Regions from separate parts of the Homo sapiens genome. Here regions 1, 2 and 4 are each linked to region 3. The links are contacts of gene promoters, found by promoter capture Hi-C in blood cells and fetal thymus (Javierre and others, 2016). All regions are on one chromosome and are shown on one strand. Each heading gives the region's core, a stretch centred on a gene start or on the middle of the fragment in contact. The rest is flanking DNA. Distances are from core to core; before and after follow the strand shown. Region 1 overlaps SEC31B (SEC31 homolog B, COPII component). Region 2 overlaps WNT8B (Wnt family member 8B). Region 3 holds the start of CWF19L1 (CWF19 like cell cycle control factor 1). Region 4 has its middle 16 kb from the start of WNT8B.

Region 1 (5,063 bases), core at 112-2,611, 230 kb before region 3:
AAACATTTAGACTCACAAGGCTGGGTGCGGTGGCTCACGCCTGTAATCCCAGCAATTTGGGAGGCTGAGGTGGGTGGATCACCTGGGGTCAGGAGTTCGAGACCAGCCTGGCCAACATGGTGAAACCCTGTCTCTACTAAAAATACAAAAAATTAGCCGGGCGTGGTTGAGGGCGCCTGTAATTCCAGCTACTTAGGAGGCTGAGACAGGAGAATCACTTGAACCCTGAGGGTGGAGGTTGCAGTGAGCCGACATGGCGCCACTGTACTCCAGCCTGGTTGAGACAGCAAGAGTCTGTCTAAAAAAAAAAAAGAAAAGAAACATTTAGACTCACAAGACTACTGTAGGCTACACTTGGCAGCAGTCTCCTCGGAAGGATATGGGATAGGGACCACAGCAGGGTAGCATCAGGCAGGTGTCTTCTGTGGGAGCCCTTTCAGCAGTCATGCAGTAATTCAGAGTTCTCTTCTTCAGCCCGCCAGAGACAGCTCAGGTGCAAGGAGATGAGACTATACATCAGGCAGGTATGTAAGTTGCCCTGACTTAGAAGCTTCTTGCCCACAAGAGCCAATATCTCTTGTACCAATTCTAAAAGCATAGCTTCCGGAGTCCCTGCAAGGAATCTGTCCAGTTACAAGAGCCACTGCAAACAGGGAAATGCATAGCATGTTGTTCACATTAATTATTTCTAGGTTACATAGTTCCAGTCCAGATGCAAGTTACCAATCACAAGCATATTGCCTAGGAACAGCTGACATTTTACTCTCACCAGACTACCAGGGTAACAGAGCTAGGAAGTCAATGAAAGGTCAAATTCTCATGTGCAAAGGGCAGGGGGCTATGTTAACACTGCTGATAGCCCATCAGTAAGTCAGATCCAGGGAGGAAAAAGAGATGGCATTGGACTGCTGAGGGCACTTCTAGTAGTACAAAGAACTATATTGGGTATACTGGCACAGATACCCAGCTTGTTGTAGGAAGAGCGTCATTTATGTTCATTTAATGGAATCTTTTCTGTGTTCTGTGGTTTCTTAGGTGACCTTAGAGCAAGACTCCAGAATGAAATTCCTAAAGCTTTTAGGATACAGTAAAGATGAGCTTCAGAAGAAGGTAAGCTGCTTTTCACATCAGAAACATGTACTTGTTGAAGAGAAGAAGAGAATGTTGCCAGAGTAAACCACCTCAGAATACCTCTTCCTGGCCTTATTATTGCATATGTGAGCATTTTACATCCTGGAGTTTGTTTTTTTCTCAGAAAAAAATAGATCAGGGATCTTAGAGAGTACAGTTGGTGGGGTATGGAGATAGGAAAAGAGGATAATGCTTATTTGATCTTACGCTTGAAAGAGCGGTTTTCAGAGGTCTCTCCCTGCAGGTGGCCACATGGTTGAAGAGTGACGTGGGGCTAGGTGAGAGTCCTCAGCCCAAGGGAAATGACCTCAACAGTGACAGACAACAGGCCTTCTGCAGCCAGGTGTGGTAGGAGTCCAGTCAGCCTGACCTATGGTAACACAGGAAACCTGCCTTTTGGGCATCTTTCCCTTCCTGGCCCTTTTCTTTGCTGTCTGTAAGTGTTTAGCGTCTGTAGAAGTCTTCAGACTCCTCACTCTCTTAGAACCAGAGTGAGACACAGAGTCCCTAAGCTTTTGGGCTGGGAGTGGAGAGCTGTGTCTTAACCATGAACTATGGCCCTCCCCAAACCTTACCTGGCTATTTTTTTAGTTTTACCCATTAACGGCCAAATAGTAGAGCTCTCAGGGCTACTAAGCCAGCTCTCTGTCTGTCTTGGGTTCATCCCTAAGTAGTCACCTCTGTCCTTCCTCATACAGGCCTCCAAACACACCACAAAGGAAGCCTCTGCTTCCTCAGCCTTCTTTGATGAGCTGGTCCCTCAGAACATGACTCCTTGGGAGATCCCCATCACAAAAGGTACCCTGACCCTGAGGGAGAGGGAGAGTCTCTGCTTAGGACTAGGTGGGCACGGAGGTTTTGGACTTGAGACATTCCCTTCTTGTCCCCTGCCTCGTGCCTTCCTCCCACCGTCTCAAATGCTGAGTGAGTCGCTTACCAGTTAGAGCTCTCTCTGGTTGTAGATTTTCATGGATACGTCCTTCCTATGGAAGGCCTTCTACCAACAGATTTTCTTCTATCCTTCTTGCTGAAAGGACTGTGGCCCTGCCCACTGTGATCAAGCACACCTCACACTGTGCTACTGCCACATCAGTTCCCTCCCTTGTCTTGGGCCCTGTCTTTAGACCTGGGCACCAAAATACATTTTATTGCCAAGGAGTGAAACTTGAGGATTTAGTTTGGAGCCAAGCACACTGAGTGATATAGAGATATAGAGGGTGTGCTGTGGGCCCTGCAGGGGGCAGGAAGTTGGGGTTTGAGAGCAACTAATGCACAGGGGATGCTTCTGCCTGCAGATATTGATGGACTCCTAAGCCAGGCTCTCCTGCTTGGGGAACTGGGTCCGGCCGTGGAGCTGTGTCTGAAGGAGGAGCGCTTTGCTGATGCCATTATCCTGGCCCAGGCTGGGGGTACAGATCTGCTGAAGCAAACACAGGAGCGCTACTTGGCCAAGAAGAAAACCAAAATCTCCTCGGTAACTGCCCATCATGCAGGAGAAGAAGGGAGGGGATTACTTGGACCTTGTGAGGTGGATACCCACACCTTGGGACCCATGTTTGAGTATCTGCCTGCCTCTCTCTTTCTACTCTAACCACCCCCACCTCATCCCTTGCCCCTACTCAGTGCTCTAACAGGAGGCCTGTGCAGGAATCCTGCTGCCTATGCTGGATGGATGGCTGATGGTCTCTTTCCCTCTCTGCCCATTACAGCTTCTAGCCTGTGTTGTGCAAAAGAATTGGAAGGATGTGGTGTGTACCTGTAGCCTGAAGAACTGGAGAGAGGCACTGGCTTTGCTACTGACATACTCAGGCACAGAGAAATTTCCCGAGCTCTGTGGTAAGTGTGGTCCCAGGCTTCAGGATGAAATGGTGTGACTCCAGCATGGAGTCAAAGGATGCATGCAGGAGGGAGGTGGAGGAGCAGACTGAGCTGTGGGAGGCGAGGCAATGTTGTCAGGGCTAGAATCTGGCTCAGCCAGGAGGCAGGGACCACAGTGCATGCCCCTATTTTCAGAGGGGATCCTTTGTTGTCCTGTTTTACCTTGTCTTGTCACACCATGATGTGAGAACTTTCCCCTTCTCTGTACAGCAAGGTGAGTCTCAGTGTTGTCTTAAACTGCAGCTACTTGTCCCAGGCTCATGGTCCTCTCCCTGTTTCCAAACAGGAGAAGGAGAGGCACACAGGGCAGCTGTGCCATTAATGAAATTACCCTCTCTCTGCAGACATGCTGGGAACTCGCATGGAACAGGAGGGCAGCAGGGCACTAACCTCCGAAGCCAGACTCTGTTATGTGTGCTCAGGGAGTGTGGAGCGGCTGGTGGAGTGCTGGGCAAAATGCCACCAGGCTTTGTCCCCCATGGCTCTGCAGGTACCCCTTCTCTGCAGGGTACTGGCCACTCCACACCAGGCCCTTAGGAGGCTAGTGGTGGAGATGTGCAGAGCTAGCAGAGGCGAATCTTCTGGGACAGGCTGGAACCACGGTGTTAGGGAGGAGCGAAAGGTCCTGAATGTCTGGGATCTTCTCCTCTTCCCTCAGAGAAGACTAAGCAGCAGCTGCTTCAGTGTTAGTCTTCATAATTTTTTTCCTATTTCAGGTTTGGTTTTACAGATGTATTCAGTACTTGAGTAATTGTGGCTTGGCCCTTCTATTAGCTACTGTGGAAAGTTCTGTGGATCTAAACTTCCAGGTGTTCTGTGGGTGACCACAGAAAGTGGGGGTCACAGACTCATGGAGAGACAAAAGTCGCACATGAAACAATTAGTCTGACAGAGTCTGTGGTTGGTGATGTATAAGCAGAAAGGGTAAAAAAGCAAAAGGAAGAGGTAGAGATGTACAAAAATCTAAGACCCAGATGGGTCCAGTTAAATCCAATCCTAACAGCTTGGGAGGTGAGGCCAGGTGGCCCTTCTCTGTCACAGTTCTTACGTGTCATCATCTGCTGCCTTCACCTAGGTATGGTCAGGTGCCCTCATCTGTACCCATAGTGGGAGATCCCTGAATGAGCTGCGTGGACTTAGAGAGCAGGATATGCCTCATTGAAGGCTTACCACCCTCATCCTTGCCCTTACAGGACCTGATGGAGAAGGTGATGGTTCTTAACAGGAGCTTGGAGCAACTGCGGGGTCCTCATGGGGTGAGCCCAGGCCCTGCCACAACCTACAGGGTCACTCAGTATGCCAACCTCCTGGCAGCCCAGGGCAGCCTGGCCACTGCCATGAGCTTTCTACCCAGGGACTGTGCTCAGGTAAGTGGGGCCATGTGGAGAGAGCAAACCATTTCATTCAGTCATCTAACATTGATTGAGCACTTCCATATTCCAGGCACTATGCTAATGCTGAAGCTCCTAGGATAGATAAGATGGAATCCCTTAAGCACCTCACAATCTACTGGGGGAAGATCAGATGTTGATGACTTATAGTGCCATAACAGAAGCTTATACTGAGCACTGTGGGAGTCCAGGGAAGGGACTGATTTTTGCCTGGAGAAGTCAAGGAAGGCTTCTCAATGGTTAAAACAGCTGAGCTGGACCTTCAAAGAGAAGTAGCTTACCAGCAGATATAGAGCATTCTAAGCAGAAAGAATAGCAAGGAGGGAGGCATGCAAGTGTTTGGCAGGGATTCAGGAACCTTGAGTCATCTCTAAGGGGGCTAGAGTATAGAGCGGGGGTGTCCAAGGGTCAGAATACAGTCGTGGGTGCTTAGTTTCTGTTTCTGGTTGGGCCAGTAAAGCCCCTTCCTCATCCCGGTTTTCCACTTATCACTAGAGACAAACCAAAAACCATGGCTTCAGGCTGCTAAAAACCTAAAACAAAACAAAACAGAACAGAACAACAACAACAACAAAATAACACAGGTTGGACAAGCTTGGTGTAGAGGGTCAGCTGAAATTTGACTGCTACCTGGGGCCTTGATTGTTTTAATTTCTTGACACA
Region 2 (4,686 bases), core at 163-2,662, 210 kb before region 3:
AGGAAACTACTCAATGGGAAAAGAAGGTTCTAAGCTACATTTAGCCTGGCTTGTCATTGTAGGGCTTGGGATCAAACTCGTTCACCCATCTTCCGCATGATTTTCTTCATATTTAGAAGAATACAGCTCTTCTTCACCCCCACCAGGCTTTTCATTCTTTATGTGCGTTGGCTGGCCTATGGTACCCATCCCTACATTACTACTCACCCAGTTGCCCGTTGCGGGAGTCATCACAGCCACAGTTATCAAAATCTCCAAGGCTGCAGTTTCTAGTCAGGGTGTACATGACTCCAGCAGAACTGATGGCATGCACAAATGCTGTCTCCCGATTGGCTAGCAGGAACCAAAAATCCAGAGTTAGAGGGAGGGGTTTCAGCTTAAAGAAATACCAGACATGCTACCTTTCTTTAATAACCATCATTATATCCTCTTTCCCTAGCTCCATCCTATTTCCCCATCTTTATTATTATTTTTTAACTTTTATTTTTTTGCAGAGAGTCGGTCTCACTATGTTGCCTAGGCTTGTCTCAAACTCTGGGCTCAGTCTTCCTACCTCGTCCTCCCAAAGAGCTTGGGATTACAGGCTTGAGCCACTGTGCCTGGCCTTCCCATCTTTATAGTGTATCTTACCCTCTTGCATGGTCTGCCCCATCCCTGGCCTTAGCCCTGCTCTTCTCACCTCCTGTCTTTTCAGGTCACACATTTTATGACCAAGTGGCTAGGGTACTGTTGACACACATGACTGGAAAGAGCCTGAGGAAGAAATGGGGAGGGAGATGAATCTGAAGGCTAGGTTGTAAAGAACCCATCCCCACTTCCTCCTGGAACACTTAGGGTCTAAGAGTCATGTGCAGTTAGTCTTGAAAAGAACCTCTGATTGGTAGCTCTTTCATTTACTGGCATGGCCACTCTTTATCTTCTCCATGGGAATCTGGTCTCCAAGTCACTCTCCACTTGCCCAGTATCTCTCTGCTGAGGAAGGGGCTAAGAGGTCTGAGGAATTATGACCCCTGCCTACCTCCTGATATTACTTACATTGTGAGGAGACCTTTAGCCAGCTGGGAGGCCAAGGATGGTATGGGATTGGGAGTAAGGCAAGATCCATTTGTTGAGCAATGAGAGTGTTGAGAAAGAAAGAAAAAACTCTACAGGTGGGAAAAAGGAAGTAGAAAAGGAAAAGAGAAGATCCTGGAGAGGGAGATGACCTAAGAGAAGAGAGCAGGTGAGGAATAAGGGTGTCGAGGAGGCAAGGGGCTATCCCTGGGGCTCTAACCTGTGACCAGAGGGTCCAGGGAGCTGTGGCTGAGGTTTTTCTTACCACTGCGAAGCCCACCATGGCTGGACAGCTGCAGGGCTCTCTCAGGGCAGTTCCAGCGGTCCCAGGCAAACTGATACTTGCATTCTTCAATACCACTCTGGGCACCAGCTGCCACACTGCTGGAGTAAATCAGGTAAGCCTGTAGGGACATAGGGGTAAAAATTCAGACTGAACTTAGGAGGCATTTACCCTAAACTGACCAAACAGCCCTCTTCCTGCTCACTCTCCCATCCCTCCAAAATAATGGAGTAAGCCTTTAAATATGCTGTCTCATTTGACATCACAAATAACTTGTGAAATAGGCACTATATTATAGATTAGGAAACTGAGGCCCAGGGAGTGAGCTAAAGTAATTTCCCCAAAGTCCCAGAGCTAGCAAATGGCAGAACTAGAAATGAAACTCAGTTTTATCAGACTCTAGTCCCTATTATCCTTTATTCACCTTTCTTCACTATACTATCCTGTCTCTCCAAAATGAGCCCAAATCACCTAATTCATGAAATTTAAGGAGTTCTCATCACATGACCATCTTAGAAAACAACATTTTGGAACTGAAAATGCCCATGAATGTAAAGATCATGTAGTACAATTCCAGCATTTTAAACATGGGAAACTGCATCCCACCACGGGGCACTGAGAAGGATGTGTGACTTTGCAGCCTGACACCTATAAAAGGCTGTTGACTTTTATGGCTCTGGAAATTCTAGCCATAAATTCAGTGCTCCTGCGTTCTTATCTTGGCGCTGACAGTGGTTTGCTATGTGGTTTTAGATGTGTCCCTAACACCCTCTGGGTCTCAATCTTTCTATCTGTAATGTATACAGCATAATAAAATATGTGGATATAATGAAAAATCTGCATTTATCATCTTTAGTCAACAGGCTAAGATTAGTGAAATCCATATCAATTAATGGAATTTGTTCTTACCTTTGGACCAGTCATCAGGAAATTGTTCACCGACCTATAAGGGAAAAAAAAAACAAAAACAGAATATAATGCAGAGACACCAACTTGTTTCTGCTTCCAAGAGTGGTAAGAATTACTTCAGCACATGTCATTAATAGGAAGAAAGGGAAACTAGTTTTACCCAGGAAACACTGTGCATAACAAACCTACTAAAGATGATTTACAGCCAGGTGGGGTGGCTCATGCCTGTATTCCCAGCACTTTGGGAGGCTGAAGCAGGTGGATCACTTGAGGTCGGGAGTTTGAGACCAGCATGGCCAAACATAGTGAAACCCCGTCTCTGCTAAAAATACAAAAATTAGCGGGGCATGGTGGCAGGCGCCTGTAGTCCCAGCTACTCAGGAGGCTGAGGCATGAGAATCACTTGAACCTGGGAGGTGGAGGTTGCAGTGAGCCGAGATTGCGCCACTGCACTCCAGCCTGGGCGGCAGAGCAAAATTCTGTTTCAAAACAAAAAAAAAAAAACACACACACACATAAAACTTAGTAGAAAAAACATGAATAAAAGTAGTATCATTTCCTTGCATTGTTAAAGCCAGGTAAAATTTCCAGTACCATATACCTGATAGTGATGGTTGCTGATTATTCTGCCATGAAGTGGGGGAGAGAACTAGCATTAACTCCTGACTATGTTCCTTATGCTCTACTCTCGGTATTTTACATGTTGATCTTGTTAAATCCTTACTGTCTCAGGCATTATTATCTCTATTTTGCAGACAGGAAATCTGAGACTCCAGAAAAGTTAAACGTGTGTTCAGGCTCACCCAGCTAATAAGTGAGTGAAGCAGGATTTGAATCCACATTCATCTGACTCCGTGGGACGTTAGAAGGATACTTCTCTAATTAGGAAGAGGTAAACAAACAGTGGAATATCTCTCTAGGGATTGAGTCATAATAAAACTCTAAAAATAAGTAATGCGATTTGGAAAAATGGTTTGGCTGCCCCTTTTAAAACTAAAAATGGGCTGGGCACAGTGGCTCACGCCCATAATCCCAGCACTTTGGGAGGCTGAGGCAGGTGGATCACCTGAATCCAGGAGTTCAAGACCAGCCTAGGCATCATCATGGCAAAACCCCGTCTCTACTAAAAAAAAAAAAAAAAAATAGCTAGGCATGGTGGTATGCGCCTGTAATGCCAGCTACTCAGGTGGCTGAGGCACAAGAATCGCTTGAACCTGGGAGGCAGAGGCTGCAATGAGCTGAGATTGCACCACTGCACTCCAGCCTGAGCAACAGAGTGATATTCTGTCCCAAAAAAAAAACAAAAAAAAACTAAAAATGAACTTGTCATATGACTTAGCAATTGCACTCTTGGGCATTTATCCCAGAGAAATAAAGACTTACTTTCACTCAGAAATTTGTACCTGGATGCTCATAGCCACTTTATTAATAATAGTCAAAAATTGGAAACTACCCAATGTCCTTCAAAGGGTAGTTTAAAAAACTGTGGCCGGGTGCGGTGGCTCACGCCTGTAATCCTAGCACTTTGGGAGGCCAAGGCAGGCAGATCATGAGGTCAGGAGATCGAGACCATCCTGGCTAACATGGTGAAACCCTGTCTCTACTAAAAATACAAAAAATTAGCCAGGCGTGGTGGTGGGCACTTGTAGTTCCAGCTACTCAGGAGGCTAAGGCAGGAGAATGGCGTGAACCTGGGAATGGAGCTTGCAGTGAGCCAAGATCGCGCCACTGCACTCCAGCCTGGGTAACAGACCGAGACTCCAACTCAAAAATAAAATAAAATAAATAAATAAATGAATAAAAAATAAAAAACTGTGGTACATTCATACCATGGAATATTACTCAGCAATAAAAAGGAATGATACGTTGATACATGCAACAACTTGGATGAACCTCAAGGAAGTTACGGAGTGATTAAAGTCAGTCTCAGAAGGATACATACTGCATGATTCTATTTACATAACAATAGTGAAATAATAAAAATTATATAATTATAGAGCTGGAGGACAGATCAGTGGTTGCCAAGGATTTGGGATGGGGGATGGATGTGGCTGTAAAGAGTAACATGAGAAAGTCTTGGGGGAATGGCCAAATGTCTTTACTGTGGTTATACAAGGCTACACATGACAAAATTGCATAAAGCCACATACATGAGTACATGTACACACAAGTGCATGTAAAAATGGTGAAGTCTGAATAAGCTTCATGGATATCGTACTAACGTTGTAAGATGTTCACACTGGGGGAGGTTGGGGCAAGTGTACATGGGACTTCCCTGTACGTTTCTTCCCTGTACATGTCTTGCAACTCCATAATTATCTAAAAATAAAAAGTTAAATATATATGTACATATACACATGATCTGCAGGGCTAAAGACTTGGAGAATGACTTCAGTATAGGCATTTGAAAATCAGAATCTATTATCTATTATCTTTGTTTT
Region 3 (4,911 bases), core at 131-2,630:
TCCTTACACACTTGTTTCCTACCACTTGGCCTGAACCCTTCAAAAAAGTCAATATTACAAAAACTAAAACCAAATAGGTAGGAGGGCTTTTGTAGATTAAAATAGAGACAGAACCAAATGCAAGTGTGAAACTTGATTGCATCTGAATCAAAACAAGCCCCAAATATAAAATCAGTTTGTAGGGAAATATGGAGAACTTTAAATATGGATGTATATTAGGTAATATTATTGAATAATTAATGTTAATTTTCTTAGCTGTGTTAATAGTATTACGGTTATGTAGGAGGATATCCTAATCTTAGGAGATAAATGGAGATGTATTCCTGTTGTCCGCACTTTATTTTATTTTATTTTTTGACACGGAGTCTCGCTCTGTCGCCCAGGCTGGAGTGAAGTGGCGCGATCTCGGCTCACTGCAACTTCCTCCTCCTGGGTTCAAGCGATTCCCCTGCCTCAGCCTCCCGAGTAACTGGGACTGCAGGTGCGTGCCACCACGCCCGGCTAATTTTTTGTATTTTTAGTAGAGAGGGGGTTTCACCGTGTTAGCCAGGATGGTCTGGATCTCCCAAAGTGCTGGGATTACAGGCGTGAGCCACTGCGCCCGGCCTGTACTTTACTTTCAAATGATTGAGTGAGAATGGAAGGGCTTGGGCACTTTGAGAGAAAGAGAACACAAGCAAATTTGCCAACATGCTGAGACTTACTGAATCAAGGTAATAGCCATTATTCTTTTAACTTTTTTTTTTTTAATTTGAGACGGAGTTTCGCTCTTGTTGTCCAGGCTGGAGTGCAATGGCGCGATCTTGACTCACTGCAACCCCCGCCTCCCTGGTTGAAGCAATTCTCCACCATGCCCGGCTAATTTTTGTATTTTTAGAAGAGACGGGGTTTCACCATGTTGCCCAGGCTGGTCTTGAACGCCCGACCTCAAGTGATCCGCCCGCCTCAGCCTTCCAAAGTGCTGGGATTATAGGCGTGAGCGTCCACGCCCGGCCTCTTAACTTTTTGATAGGTTAAAAACTTACAAAAAACGTGGATAGAGGGGGTCTGTCTTGCCCACTAGACCGATATGGTTAGGTTAGGTTAGGTTAGGTTAGGTTAGGTTAGAACCCGACATTGTGCTCTGTACTTCCTAGCCATTCATTCGCTTCAAGTGCTCTGAAATTTAATTTAAAAAATCATAGTTGGAATCCTTTCGGTCACTTTCTCTTTCTCCCTTCGTTCCTCCCTTTCCCTCTTGATTCTTCCTTGAGGCGCAAACACCTGAGAGAGGCTTCTGTCCCTCGGCGGTCTCCGTAAGTAAGTGAACCGTTATTGGCTGGAGGGCGCTGACGTCTGATTGTTGCGCGGTCGCATTTTTCCGGGGAGCGCGGATTCGCATTCCCAATTTTAGGTGGCAGTCGCAACCCATACTATTCGGACAGATGGCACAGAAACCGCTGCGCCTGTGAGTGACCGTGAATGGAAGCCTCTCTCCCTGTGTCTCTTTCGTGTGTGTAGGTGACGACACGGGCGGGAGTCTTTCCCATGACGGGAAGGGAGAAGGAAAAGGCGGAGAGACACGGGGCTGCTGGGGAGCTTAGGTGATGTCTTTGCCTGGCCGGGGCTGACCTCTTTTCCTGGCCCTTTTCGCTTCTGAGGGGGTTTCTCTTGGCGACGCTCGTTCGGAGAGGCGGAAGCTCCCAGAGTTAGGCCTCCTCCATCTTAGGGGGCAGTCCTGGCCTCTGACACATCCTTTCCCCTTCGTTTCTCCTGACCCCATTTATTTACTCGCCAAATAGCCATTGGGCCCACTGATGGGCCCTGGGCAGTGGTGGACAGAGTAGATAGGGACCCTTCCCTGGGGCATTTTTTTTTTTTTTTTTTTTTTGCGAGGAGGAGGGGTGGGGGTGGTGGTGAAGAGAGGGCTTCATGCAGCAAGTATTTATTGAAGAACTGCAGTGTGCCGGACGCTGTGCTAGGTGTTGCAACAGATGGAGTTCCTGCTTTAATGGAGCGTAGAGTCTAGAGGAACAGGTACTAAAGAATCCAGATAATGGGCCGGGCGCGGTGGCTGAGGCAGGAGAATCGCTTGAACCCGGGAGGCGGAGGTTGCTGTGAGCCGAGATCGCGCCACTGCACTCCAGCCTGGGCGACAGAACGAGACTCTCAAAACAAAACAAAACAAAACAAAACAAACAAAAAACAATACAAATAATGGCCGGGCGCGGTGGCTCACGCCTGTAATCCTAGCACTTTGGGAGGCTGAGGCGGGCGGATCACTTGCGGTCAGGAGTTCGAGACCAGCCTGGCCAACGTGGTGACACCCCGTCTCTACTAATACAAAAAAAAAAAATTAGCCAGGCGTGGTGGCGCGTGCCTGTAATCCCAGCTACTTGGGAGGCTGAGGCAGGAGAATCGCTTGAACCCGGAGGCGGAGGTTGCACAGTGAGCCGACACTGCACCTCTGCACTCCAGCCTAGGTAACAGAGTGAGACTCCGTCTAAAAAAAAAGGAATTCAGATAAATGTAAAGTTACCATAGTGATAGGGCCAGGCGCAGTGGCTCACGCCTATAATCCCAGCGACTCCGGAGGCCAAGGCAAGAGAATCACTTGAGTCCAGGAATTCAAGACCAGCCTGGGCAATATAGCAAGGCCCCGTTTCTACAAAAAATACAGAAAAAAAAAAAAATTAGCCGGGCGTGGTGGTCCCAGCTAATTGGGAGGCTGAAGCAGGTGGACCACCTGAGCCTGGGGAGGTCGATGCTGCAGTGAGCTGTGATCGTGCTGCTGATCTCCAGGCTGGGTGACAGATTGAAACCCTGTCTCAAAAAAAAAAAAAAAAAAATTGCAATAGTGGTAACTTTTGGGAAGAAAATATTCGTGAATCTGGGAGAGTGCATAAGAGGGGTATTTGGCTTAATGATAGGAGTCAAGAAGGCTTCCCGAGAATGTTAGGATTGAGCCTTGGGAAATAAGAGTAATCCATTGCTTAACAGCAGGGTTATGTTCTGAGAAATGAGTTGGTAGGCGATTTCGTCATTGTGCGAACATCTTTGAGTGTACTTCCAGAGACCTAGATGGTATGGCTTCCTGTACACCTAGGCTAAATGGTATAGCTGTACGTCAAGTTACTGTACTGAATACTGTAGGCAATTGTAACACAATGGTAAGCATTTTTGTATTTAAATATAGAAAGGGTACAGTGAAAACACCTGGCCGGGTGTGGTGGCTTATGCCTGTAATCCCAACACTTTGGGAGGCCGAGGTGGGTGGATCACCTGAGGTCAGAAGTTCAAGACCAGCCTGGCCAACATGGTGAAACCCTGTGTCTACTAAACATACAAAAATTAGCCGGGTGTGGTAGCGGGCGCCTGTAATCCCAGCTACTCAAGAGGTTGAGGCAGGAGAATGGCTTGAGCCTGGGAGGCAGAGGTTGCAGTGAGCCGAGATCGCACCACTGCACTCCAGCCTGGGCGACAGAGCGAGACTGTCTCAAAAAAAAAAAAAAAGAAAAAGAAAAAAAGAAAATACTGTATACAGGAAAAAAAAAAAGGGCACAACCTGTGTAGGACACTTATCATGAATGGAGTTTGCAGAACTGAAAGTTTCTCTGAGTGAGTTAGTAAGAGGTGAGTGAATGTATTACTTTACAGTATTGTAGACTTTATGAATACTGTACACTTCACCTATATTAAATTTATTAAAATATTATTTTCAACAGTAAACCTTAGTTTACTGTAACTTTTACTTTATAAACTTTAAGTTTTTTTACACTTTTTGACTCTTGTTATAACACAGCTAAGACATAAAACACATTGTACAGCTGTACAAAAATATTTTCTTTATATCCTTATTCTACAAGCTTTTTTCTATTACTTTTTTTTTCTTTTTACCTTTTAAACTTTTTTTTTTTTTGGAGACAGGGTCTCACTGTCGCCCAGGCTGGAGTGCAATTGTGCAATCACGGCTCACTGCAACCTCAACCTCCTGGGCTCAAGTGATTCTCCCACTTCAGCCTCCTGAGTAGCTGGGACTACAGGCGGAAGCTACCACACCTGGCTAATTTCTGTATTTTTTGTAGAGAGGGGGTTTTGCTATGTTACCCAGGCTGGTCTTGAACTCCTGGGCTCAAGTTACCCTCCTGCCTCAGCCTCCCAAAGTGCTGGGATTACAGACGTGAGCCACTGTGCCTGGCTTTAAACTTGTTTTGTTGCAAACTAAGACACACACACGAGTCTAGGCCTACACAGGGTCAGGATCATCAGTATCACTGCTGTTCACCTCCATATCTTGTCCCACTGGAAGGGCTTCAGTAGTAATAACATGCATGAAGCTGTCATCTCCTATGATAACAGTGCCCTCTGGAATACTTCCTGAAGGACCTGCCTGAGGCTTTTTTACAGTCAACTTTTTTTTTTTTTTTTTGAATACGTAGGAGTGTACTCTAAACAGTAAAGAGCATACCATACTGAATATATTTTTTTTTTTTTGAGATGGAGTCTTGCTCTGTTGCCCAGGCTGGAGTGCAGTGCCGCGATCTCAGCTCACTGCAAGCTCTGCCTCGTGGGTTCATGCTATTCTCCCGCCTCAGCCTCCTGAGTAGCTGGGACTACAGGCGCCCGCCACCACGCCCGGCTAATTTTTTGTATTTTTAGTAGAGATGAGGTTTCACTGTGTTAACCAGGATGGTCTCGAGCTCCTGACCTTGTGATCCGCTCGCCTTGGCCTCCCAAAGTGCTGGGATTACAGGCGTAAGCCACCGCACCTGGCCATAGCATGCTAAATATTATACATAAACCAGTAACATAGTTGTTTATTATCATTATCAAATATTGTATACTGTACATAACTGTATGTGCTACACTTTTTATAACCACCAGCCCAGTAGGTTTATACCAGCATTACCACAAACAAATGAGTAATATATT
Region 4 (4,970 bases), core at 1,238-3,737, 180 kb before region 3:
AGAAGCCGAGTGTGTCTTTGCACAACCAAAAAGGACTGCATCAACTTCAATAAGTGACACCTGGCTGAGGCAGTTTAATGTTGAATAATATAACTTGTGGCAATGATCCTCTTTCATGGTAACTGACCTCTACTCAGAATTATCTTTTGTGTAAGGAAAGTCTAGGCAGGGGCCAGGCGCAGTGGCTCACGTCTGTAATCCCAGCACTTTGGGAGGCCGAGGTGGGTGGATCACCTGAGGTCAGGAGTTCGAGACCAGCCTGGCCAACAAGGTGAAACCCCATCTCGACTAAAAAAATACAAAAATTAGCCAGACGTGGTGGCTCACTCCTGTAACTCCTGTAATCCCAGCTACTTGGGAGGCTGAGGCATGAGAATTGCTTAAGCCCGAAAGGCAGAGTTTGCAGTGAGCCAAGATTGTGCCACTGCACTCCAGCCTGGGTGATGGAGTGAGACTCTACCTCAAAAATAAATAAATAAATAAAAATAAAGTCTAGGCAGGAAGTAATCGGTGACTGAGGGATTCTGGTTAACCCATTCCTTTTTACTTTGCTAGTCCATTTCCACTGGCTTTTCAAGGATGCCAAGATTGGAAGAAATACAATCTTGAGAAAAAACAACTTGATATAGAAAACTAATGTGGAAGATGTATTCGTTTCCTAGGGCTGCCGCTGTATTACAAAGCACTGCAAAATGGGAAGCTTAAAACAACCAAAATGTATTCTCTCACAGTTTAGAGAGCAGAAGTTTAAAATTAAGGTGTCAGCAGGATTGGTTCCTCTTTGGGGGCTCAGAGAAAGAATCTGTTCCAAGCCTTACTCTTTGCTTCTGGTGTTGCTGGCGATCCTTGGCATTTCTTGGCTTGTGGACACATCACTCTATTCTCAGCCTCTGTCATCACACGGTGTTCCCTCCTTCTTTCTCTCCTCCTCCTCCTCCTTCTTCTTCTTTCTTCTCCTTCTTCTTCTCTTCCTTCTTCTTCTTCTTCATTTTTAAAATTTTTATTTATTTATTTTTAGAGACAGAGTCTCGCTTGTCCCCTAGGCTGGAGTGCAGTGGTGCAGTCATGGCTCACTGCAGCCCTGAACTCCTGGGAACAAGTGATCCTCCTGCCACAGCCTCCTGAGTAGCTAGGACTACAGGTGCACGCCACCACACCTGGCTAATTCTTATATGTTTTTAGAGACAAGGTCTCACTATGTTGCCCAGGTTGGTCTCAAACTCCTGGCCTCAAGCGATCCTCCCATCTTGGCCTCCCAAAGTATTGGGATTACAGGTGTGAGCCACTGCCCCGGCCTCTTTTCTTCTTAGAAGGACACCATTTGTGTTGGATTAAGAGCCCACACTACTCCAGCATGACCTCATGTTAAATTGACTAATTACATCTGCCACAACAACTCTATTTCCAAATAAAGTCACATGCTGAGGTACTGGAGCTTAGGGCTGCAATATATCTTTTAGGAGGACACAACTCAATCCATAACATATAGGACATATACCTTTAAATATTTCACTCTAAAAACTCCAACGGGCCGGTCATAGTGGCTTACACCTGTAATCCCAGCACTGGGAGGCCAAGGCGGGTGGAAAACTTGAGCTCAGGAGTTTGAGACCAGCCTAATCAATATGGCAAAACTCTCTGTCTACCAAAAATACAAAAGTTAGTCTGGCATGGTGACTCGCGCATGTAGTCCCAACTACTTGGGAGGCTGAGGTGGGAGGTTCACTGGAGCCTGGGAAGTCAAGGCTGCAGTGAGCCAAGATTATACCACTGTACTGCAGCCTGGGAGACAGGGTGAGACCCTATCTCAAAACAACAACAATAACAACAACCAAAATACACCCCCAAACCCTGCAGCAAACCTTTTACTCACATTCAGATGTTGTATAATCTCAGATTTTATCACTTTGGAACTTTTTATCTGGGTGGTCAAATCCCATTCAACAGATGAAAGAAAGTTCTGTGATGCCAGAGCCTGCATTCTGGGTATTGAGCCCTTTCTTATTGAGCCATTTGAGTTATTTTGAGGAGAACTCATCAATTATTTACTGGAGGGGCAGGTGCTTGGCTGATGAAGGGAGAGCGAAATTGATGGGCCAGCTGTTCTATGTACAGACTTTTAATCAGTAACTCCCACATCTCATTTGCTCCCTCTGTTGTATGTGGGGCTCCAGCTAAAAGCTCCTCCTGGATCCTGGGGACTACCCAGTGTCCTTGGCTGCCACCCCCTCCACAAAAACCCTAGGCAGTAGCTGCTTCTTCTTGGCTTCATTACCCTTTCCTTATCTCTAACTTCAAAAAGTTGGTTGAAATCTTCATTTGCTGATGGGCCCCTTCATTTTTTTCACCACTCTAAGTTTTATTTATTTCTATGTTATTTGTCATCATTATAATAGGGTGGGGTTCCTGTAGTGAGAGGGAAAAACTGTATGTGTTCACTTGGCCACCTAAAACTTGTGAATATATATACTTAAAGTGTTAATAGATATTACCAAATTGCCTTTCCTTTTCAATATTTATATTTCTCTATTCTTTTTCTTCTTTTGTTGCATTGACTAAACTTGAATGTAATATTGGTGACGGTAATGGGCCTCCTGATCTTATCCTATTTTGGTGGAAATGCTTCTAATATTTCATCGTTAAATACGATGTTTTGGAGGCCATTATCCTTATTGAAATGACTCAGAAGCAGAAAGCAGAAAACAGTATGTTTTCACTTATTCATGAGAGCTAACAATGAGTGCACATAGACACACAGAGTGGAATAATAGACACTGAAGACTCCAGAAGGTGGGAGGGTGATGAGCCTGGTCCTGAAATTGTACTTTCCAATTGTTGCTGGCACAATTTATTTTTTAATATTCACTTTGTATTCAGAAACATTACTCACTTTAATTCTAACACTTTGTGGGATATTCTTTTGCATTTTTTTATATTGACATATGTGATCTGAAAATAGTGACTGTTTCTTCCTTTTATTTCTTGTTCAATTTTACTGTGTCAACTAAGACCTCTAGTTCAATAGAATAGAAATGATAGTGGCAACTTTTGTCTTGTTAATGAAATGGAATAATTTCAGTGTTTCACCATGAAAGAAGATATATGACATGAAATTGTGATAGCCAGTCTCTATATGGCTCCAAATGATCTTTGCCTAATGATATTCACATCCCATATCTGAAGAGGGCTGACCTGTGTAATAGGATATTGCAGAAATGGTCACGTGTGACTTCTGAGGCTAGACTATAAAAGATATTGTTTCCATCTTGCTCTCTCGGTCTGCCTGCTCTGGGGGAAAGCCAGCTGCTGTGTTGGAAGGACACTCAAGCAGCTCTATGGAAGGGTCACTGCAGCAAGGAGGCCTCCTGCTGGCAACCAACATCAATTTGCCAGCTCTGTGAGTCAGCCACCTAGAAAGAGGATCCTCCAGCCCCAGTCAAACCTTCAGATGACTGCAGTACTGGCCAATGTTCTGGACTGCAACATCATGGGAAATACTAAACTGGAAGCACTCAGCTAAGCTGCCCGAATTTCTCACCCATATAAACTGTGTGAGATCATAAATGTGTTTCAGTGTGTTAAGCTATCAAATTTCGGGGTCATTTGTTATGCTTCAATGGATAACTAATACAAAGAGCTTTGTAGAGGCTTTATCAGATTGAGGAAGTTCACATCTATGTCTAGTTTCATTAAAGATTTTTAAAATAATGAATTCACTTTGGGAGGTCAAGGTGGGAGGATCACTTGAAGCCAGAAATTTGAGACCAGCCTGGGCAATGAAGTAAGACCCTCTCTTTAGAAAAAACTAAAATTGGTCAGGTGCGGTGGCTTACGCCTGTAATCCCAGCACTTTGGGAGGCCGAGGTGGGCAGATCATGAGGTCAGGAGATCGAGACCATCCTGGGCAACATGGTGAAACCCCGTCTCTACTAAAAAATACAAAAATTAGCTGGGCATGATGGCGCATGCCTGTAGTCCCAGCTACTCGGGAGGGTGAGGCAAGACAATCGCTTGAACCCGGGAGGCGGAGGTTGCAGTGAGCTGAGAATGTGCCACTACACTCCAGCCTGGTGACTGAGTGAGACACTTCATCTCAAAAAAAAAAAAAAAAGAAAAAATTAAAATTAATTAATTAATTATTTTTTAAAAAATGAATTGATGGTGGATTTTTTCATATACATTGTATCCATGTAGTGAATAAACATATTATCTTTCATTAATATGCAAATATTTTGAATTATGTTGGTGGATTTTCCAATGCTAAACCAAGCTTGCATTCCTAAGATAAACCCAACTTGGTCATAAAGTATTGTCAGTTTTGAACATTATTAAATTTAGTTTTCTAACACTTTATTAGGATTTTGCATCTATATTACTGAGTGACTATGACCTATAATTTTCCTTATTCATAAAGTTTTTGTCAAGTTTTATAAGAATTCTGCCAGTTTCACAAAATTAATTGGGAGTGATTTATCCTTTTCTGTACTCTGAATTGATTTGCACAAGTTGGAATCATTTGGCCCTTGAATGTATGTGAGAACTCACTGGTGAAACCACCTGGACTTGATTTTTAGCTATTGCTTTAATGCCTTGTTATAGGATTATTAAGGGTTTTTCTTTCTTCTTGAGTCAGTCTTGGTAAATTGTATTTTTTCCTGGAAGATGGTTCATTTGATGAAAGTTTTCATATACATTGGCTTATAGTTGTTTATAATATACCCCATCTCTGCTAAAAAAATGCAAAATTAGGTGGGTGTGGTGGTGCATGCCTGTAATCCCAGATACTTGGGAGGCTGAGGCAGGAGAATTGCTTGAACCCGGGAGGTGGAGGTTGCAGTGAGCCGAGATCGCGCCATTGCACTCCAGCCTGGGCAACAAGAGTGAAACTCCATCTCAAAAAAAAAAAAAAAAAAAAAAAGGAATTCATAGTAGTAACTCAAATAAATGTATTGAGCAATTCCTACAACCCT

Evidence for each region. The method cuts DNA at HindIII sites, captures the fragments that hold promoters and counts their contacts. A CHiCAGO score of 5 or more calls a contact.
Region 1: a fragment that was not itself captured here is called in contact with the fragment with the promoter of CWF19L1 in region 3 in 1 of 17 cell types (activated CD4 T cells); the score reaches 6.5 in activated CD4 T cells.
Region 2: a contact is called between a fragment that was not itself captured here and the fragment with the promoter of CWF19L1 in region 3, in 3 of 17 cell types (total CD8 T cells, naive CD4 T cells and naive CD8 T cells). The highest score is 6.2, in total CD8 T cells.
Region 4: a fragment that was not itself captured here is called in contact with the fragment with the promoter of CWF19L1 in region 3 in 2 of 17 cell types (M2 macrophages and total B cells); the score reaches 5.3 in M2 macrophages.

What each region holds. Positions count from the first base shown.
Region 1 is chr10:100,495,571-100,500,633 of GRCh38, reverse strand. It overlaps SEC31B (SEC31 homolog B, COPII component), which reads left to right. Exons shown (of 26, transcript NM_015490.4): 12 at 1,036-1,110; 13 at 1,376-1,474; 14 at 1,830-1,929; 15 at 2,427-2,605; 16 at 2,841-2,967; 17 at 3,354-3,499; 18 at 4,203-4,376. Among named protein-coding and RNA genes, the nearest start is that of SEC31B, 22 kb to the left of the region's middle. The HindIII fragment of the contact is 569 bases long and covers 1,077-1,645 here.
Region 2 is chr10:100,476,645-100,481,330 of GRCh38, reverse strand. WNT8B (Wnt family member 8B) reads right to left here. Exons shown (of 6, transcript NM_003393.4): 2 at 2,246-2,279; 3 at 1,319-1,457; 4 at 208-333. Among named protein-coding and RNA genes, the nearest start is that of WNT8B, 16 kb to the right of the region's middle. The HindIII fragment of the contact is 6,072 bases long and covers 1-4,448 here.
Region 3 is chr10:100,264,107-100,269,017 of GRCh38, reverse strand. CWF19L1 (CWF19 like cell cycle control factor 1) reads left to right here and starts at 1,380. Exons shown (of 14, transcript NM_018294.6): 1 at 1,380-1,447. The coding sequence starts at 1,425. RefSeq lists an enhancer at 3,400-3,649. The HindIII fragment of the contact is 22,053 bases long and covers 1-3,847 here.
Region 4 is chr10:100,444,957-100,449,926 of GRCh38, reverse strand. No RefSeq gene overlaps it. Among named protein-coding and RNA genes, the nearest start is that of WNT8B, 16 kb to the left of the region's middle. The HindIII fragment of the contact is 3,570 bases long and covers 703-4,272 here.